2 separate regions of the Homo sapiens genome follow, and region 2 is linked to region 1. Evidence: promoter capture Hi-C in human tissues and cell types (Jung and others, 2019). All regions are on one chromosome and are shown on one strand. Each heading gives the region's core, a stretch centred on a gene start or on the middle of the fragment in contact. The rest is flanking DNA. Distances are from core to core; before and after follow the strand shown. Region 1 holds the start of ADCY9 (adenylate cyclase 9). Region 2 has its middle 12 kb from the start of TFAP4.

Region 1 (2,700 bases), core at 62-2,561:
GTGTTGGTCAGGCTGGTCTCGAACTCCCGACCTCAGGTGATCCGCCCACCTCGGCCTCCCAAAGTGCTGGGATTACAGGCGTGAGCCACCGCTCCCGGCCTAAACCACTTTAAAGTGTATGATTCAAGGGCAGTATGTAGATTCATCCTGTTGGATCATTTCTAGACTTTTTCATCATCCTAAAACGAAACCCCAAGCTGCTTATCTTCCTCCCCTAGCACCTGGCAACCTCCAATCTGTGTCGCCTCTACGGATTTGCCAATTCGAGACATTTCATCTGGATGGAATCATACGCTATGTGGCCTTTTTTGTTTGGCTTCTTTCACTAGCATAACGTTTCCCGGGTTCCTCCACACTGCAGCATGCATCGGTGCTCCATTCCTTTTTGTAGCCGAATAATATTCCATTGCATGGACAGATCACATTTTACTTTTATTTTCTAATTCAACAGTGAGACCTGGTGTGGGCCCCGGCGCTGGGCCTGGGAGGCGAGGGAGGGGATGGAAGAGAGCCCCGTGACTGGCAGGAGGCACTGTGGAGTGTGGGGAGAAGGGGTCGGGATCTGCATGCTAGAGAGAATAGGATTTTATTTACACGTGGCAATGTTTATGGAGGCCAATGCACAACTGCCATTATGGGACGCGGACTCCTTTGAAAGTCTCATTTGTGTAAAAGGAAAAGCAGTAGTTCATGAGGAGGGGGAGAAGGGCTCAAGGACAGCAAGGTAAACTACCCCTGGGGCGGGGGAACGTGGTCGTCGGTGGGCCCAGCTTTGGAGGCTAGGCCCGTGAAGGTCGCCCCGTGAGCAGGTCCAGGGCAGGCCGAGTGCCCCGGGGCCCGCATTCATTGCTTACAGAGCAAGGGGAGCCTCCCGGGAGGGAAATCCAACGGTTGGAAACTTCGATTTATCCCAAAGGCGTGCCGAGTGGGAAGGCAACATTTTGATTTCCCAAACGTTGCGGCCAGCGGCTTCTTCCACGGCAGGCGCCTTCAGGTCTCTCCGCAGGGTCGGGACCCCGGGCGGCGCGCGGCCTCTGGGACGCCGAGGGAGGGCGGGCCCACAGCGCCCGGAGCGCGGACAGCGGCCACAGCCCGCCGCCTAGAAGCGGCGCCGCCCGGGGCGGGGGGCGGAGCCGAGCGCGCGCCCCGCCCCGCCCCGCCCCGCCCCGCAGCCCCAGCCCAGCGCGCGCACCAAGGCGGGGCGGCGCGCGGCCCGTGCGCGTGTCCGGGGCCAGGAGGCGGTGGCGGCGAGCGCGGGCCGCGCGTGCGCGCTGCGGCTGGGCGAGGGGCGGCGCGGGCGCGCGTCTGTCAGTGACAGCGGGCGGGGCAGGGGCCGGAGATGGTGGCGGCGGCAGCTCTTCCGACATGAGGCAGCGGCCGCGGGGGACACGGCGGCGGGCGCGGCGGCGGCCGCATCTCTAGCTCGGGGAGGCGGCCCCCGGCGTGGGCGCGGGCGGGCGGGCGTCCCGGCCGGCGTCGCGGGAGCCCGGCTCTGCGGCAGCGTCTGCACCGCCGCCCGGCGAGGGGCCCGCGTCCGTGGTTCCACGCGCTCGGTCCCGGGACAGCTGCGGCCGCGGCGGGAGCGGCGGCGCACTCGGGGGGAAGCAGGCCCCACTAGACGGGCCGCGCCGACGGGCTCCGCGCACTCGCAGCCCGGGGCGCCCCCACCCCCAGCGCCCGCCGCCGCGGGCAGGGCCGGCCCGGAGCGCGGGGGGCGGCCGGGGAGCGCGAGCCGGGGGCGCCCGCCGAAGCTCGCTGCTCCGGGTCGGGGTCCGGGCCCGGGGCCGGCCGCGCGCCGCCTTTGACGCATCGGAGCGCGGCTCCTGCAGGATGGAGGGCTCCGCGCCGCCAGCGGAGTTGTTTGTGCGCAGGCGGCTCGCGGGGCTGGGAGCGCTCAAGGTCTGAACTTCCCTCCGGAGCCGCAGCTGGAGGAGGCGAGCGCGCGAGGAGGAGAAGCCGCGCGGCGCGGAGGCCACCCTCGGGGCGAGAGGCGCGGAAGGCGAGCGAGCAAAGCGGTCCCGGAGCCACGGCGGCCACGCGGCGGGGACCCCCGGGCGTTCTAGGTCCGTCCCGAGCGGTTCTCGTGCGCCTCGAAGGTGGGGGCGGTGGGGGCGGTGGGAGCACCGCTGAGCCGGGAACCACAGGAACAGATGGTGCCTGTCCAGGTCGCGTGCTGGAGCCGCCCCTTAGGACAGGAGCAGGTCCCGGGCCTCTAGGCGTGCATGCCTAGGTGGGAGCGCCGCTAACTCTCCCCGTTTTGCTGGCAGGTACTGGTGACCCCGGCCGGGGCAGGCCCCGGGACTCGACAACATGGCTTCCCCACCCCACCAGCAGCTGCTGCATCACCACAGCACCGAGGTGAGCTGCGACTCCAGCGGGGACAGCAACAGCGTGCGCGTCAAGATCAACCCCAAGCAGCTGTCCTCCAACAGCCACCCCAAGCACTGCAAATACAGCATCTCCTCTAGCTGCAGCAGCTCTGGGGACTCCGGGGGCGTCCCCCGGCGAGTGGGCGGCGGAGGCCGGCTGCGCAGGCAGAAGAAGCTGCCCCAGCTGTTCGAGAGGGCCTCCAGCCGCTGGTGGGACCCCAAGTTCGACTCGGTGAACCTGGAGGAGGCCTGCCTGGAGCGCTGCTTCCCGCAGACCCAGCGCCGGTTCCGGTATGCGCTCTTCTACATCGGCTTCGCCTGCCTTCTGTGG
Region 2 (2,700 bases), core at 183-2,682, 170 kb before region 1:
GCCACCATGCCCGACTAATTTTTGTATTTTTAGTAAAGATGAAGTTTCACCAGTTGGCCAGGCCGGTCTCGAACTCCTGACCTCAGGTGATCCACCTGCCTCAGCCTCCCACAGTGCTGGGATTACAAGCGTGAGCCACTGCCCCTGGCCTTCCCTTTTTTTTTTTTTAATTATTTTATTTTATTTTGTTTTGAAGTATTTCACTCTGTTGCCCAGGCTGCCTTTGCAATCCTGGACTTGGGGGATTTTTCTGTCTCAGCCTCTGGAGTAGCTGAAATTACAGATGTGTGCCACCACACTCTGCTGATTACTTTCTTTTTTTACAGAGACCCACCTTTTATTTGTATTTATTTATTTATTTATTTATTTGAGACATGGTCTTGCTCTGTTGCTCAGGTTGAAGTGCAGTGGCATGATCACGACTCACTGCAGCCTTAACTCCTAGGCTCAAGCAATCCTCCCGCCTCAGCCTCCTGAGTAGCCAGGACTTCAGACATAAGCCACTGTGACCGGCCAAGAGACCCACCTTTTACAGGGCAAGTGGTTTGTTTGCCAATTTTCACTGCCCCACCACATGAGGGTGTTTCGAGTGGGAAGCAGGTGCACCCTGTGTGAACAGCAAAGCCCAGCGCATGCCTGCTGCCTCCCACCTGCTGCCACGTAGAGCTGGGAAGGGGAAAGGCTGAGCCCCACCTCCGACCTTCCCTACATATCAGGAAATCTTGTCGTTCTCCAAGGTCAGCTCAGACGCCTCTGGCCACTGCCGCCCATGGCAACTTGGTGCCAGGGATGACAGCAACCAACACTCATTGATGCCGTGACATGCCAGGCTGTCACCAGCTTTTCACAACAGCCCTGCCAGGGAGATGCTGTGTGGCTTTCATTTTGCAGATGAGAGAGCAGAGTCAGGTTAGTAGGGTTGGGGTTCAGGCAGGACCTGGATTCTGTACCACACTTCGTGGCTGCTAGTGGTTTCTGGAAGTCTGTTGTCTGAAGAGCAGGGAGTGTGTGTAGACAGAGACAGGTCTGAGGGCTGTGCCGTGGGCATGTCCTAGACGCAAAGCAAAAAAAGAATTTCAAGAAGGTCAGATGCAGTGAAGGCAGAAAACAGAGACCCAGATGTAGCATCCTGGAGGTCCTCGTGACTTTGAAAAGAGAAGGGTTTGTGTGTGTGTGTGTGTGTGTGTGTGTGTGTGTGTGTGTGTGTGTTTTATTATTTATTTATTTATTTTTGAGACAGTCTCACAGTTGCCCAGGCTGGAGTGCAGTGGTGCGATCTCGGCTCAGGTGCGATCTGTTGCCCAGGTTCAAGCGATTCTCCTGCCTCAGCCTCCTGAGTAGCTGGGATTACAGGTGCCTGCCCTTGCGCCTGGCTAATTTTTGTAGTTTTAGCAGAGATGGGGGTTTCACCATCTTGGCCAGGCTGGTTTTGAACTCCTGACCTCGTGATCCACCTGCCTTGGCCTCCCAAAGTGCTGGGACTACAGGCATGAGCCACCGCGCCCAGCCATATGTGTTTTATTTTGGAGACAGGGTCTCACTCTGCGGTCTAGGCTGGAGTGCAGTGGTGCACTCTTGGCTCAAAGCAGCCTCAACCTCTTAGAATCAAGTGATCCTCCCTCCTCAGCCTCCAGAGTAGTAGCTGGGACCAAAGATGTGCATCACCACACCTGGCTAATATTTTAATTATTTATAAAGATGAAGTCTTGCTATGTTGCCCGGCTGGTCTGGAACTCCTGGGCTCAAGCCATCCTCCTGCCTCCTGCTTTGACCTCCCAAAGTGCTAGGATTACAGAAGTGAGTCACTGCCCCCATGCAGTCATGGGGGTGTGATGGAGTGAGCAGGAGGGAAGGGGAGAGAGTGAGTGTGAACATCCATTTCAAGGAGTTTTGCTGTTAGATTCCAGAGCTGGGCTGGGCGTGGTGGCACATACCTGTAGTCCCAGCTACAAAGGAGGCTGAGGCAAGAGAATGGCTTGAACCTGGGAGGTGGAGGTTGAAGTGAGTGGAGATCATGCCACTGCACTCCAGCTTGGGTGACAGAGTGAGACTGTCTCAAAACCAAGAAAAGAGAGCAGAGCTAAGGGGATCTAGGGTCAGTCCGTTGGTTTGAAAGGAGAATAGTAACAGCTTGTTAGTAATGGGTATGATCCAAAAGACGGTGTGCACTGAAGACAAAGGAGAGAGGACAGTTTCTGGAGTGACGGCTCTGAGTTGTGCAAGTAGAAGGGTCTTCTGTGCATGAACAGCATGGATGCTCATCCAGAGACACTGGCCGATGGCAGTTCCCAGGCACAGAGAGGGAGGCAGTGGCGGGCATGGCAGCCTGTGGAAGGTCTCTTCTAATTGCTTCCATTTCCCTCAGAGGAACGGGAAGTGAGCTACAAGCAAGGAGGAGGTGCTAGAGGGCTTGAGGGGAGAGGAGAAGGAAGGGTAGGAAGAAGGGGCCAGGGCAACAGGATGCAGTCACAGCAACCCCCAGACCCACTTGAGGGTATGGATCAGGCACTTAAAAATAAGAGCAGTGGCAGGCTGGGCGCGATGGCTCATGCGTGTAATCCCAGCACTTTGGGAGGCCAAGGCGGGCGGATCACCTGAGGTCTGGAGTTCGAGGCCAGGCTGACCAACATGAAGATACCCCATCTCTACTAAAAATACAAAATTAGCTGGGCATGGTGGTGGGCACCTGTAATCCCAGCT

Evidence for each region. The method cuts DNA at HindIII sites, captures the fragments that hold promoters and counts their contacts. A contact is called where the count stands out against the background at its distance.
Region 2: a fragment that was not itself captured here is called in contact with the fragment with the promoter of ADCY9 in region 1 in 1 of the 25 tissues and cell types used here (IMR-90 fibroblasts).

The regions. Positions count from the first base shown.
Region 1 is chr16:4,115,053-4,117,752 of GRCh38, reverse strand. It overlaps ADCY9 (adenylate cyclase 9), which reads left to right and starts at 1,311. Exons shown (of 11, transcript NM_001116.4): 1 at 1,311-2,063; 2 at 2,268-2,700. The coding sequence starts at 2,311. RefSeq lists a silencer at 1,104-1,173. The HindIII fragment of the contact is 7,185 bases long and covers 1-2,700 here.
Region 2 is chr16:4,283,299-4,285,998 of GRCh38, reverse strand. No RefSeq gene overlaps it. Among named protein-coding and RNA genes, the nearest start is that of TFAP4, 12 kb to the right of the region's middle. The HindIII fragment of the contact is 7,021 bases long and covers 1-2,700 here.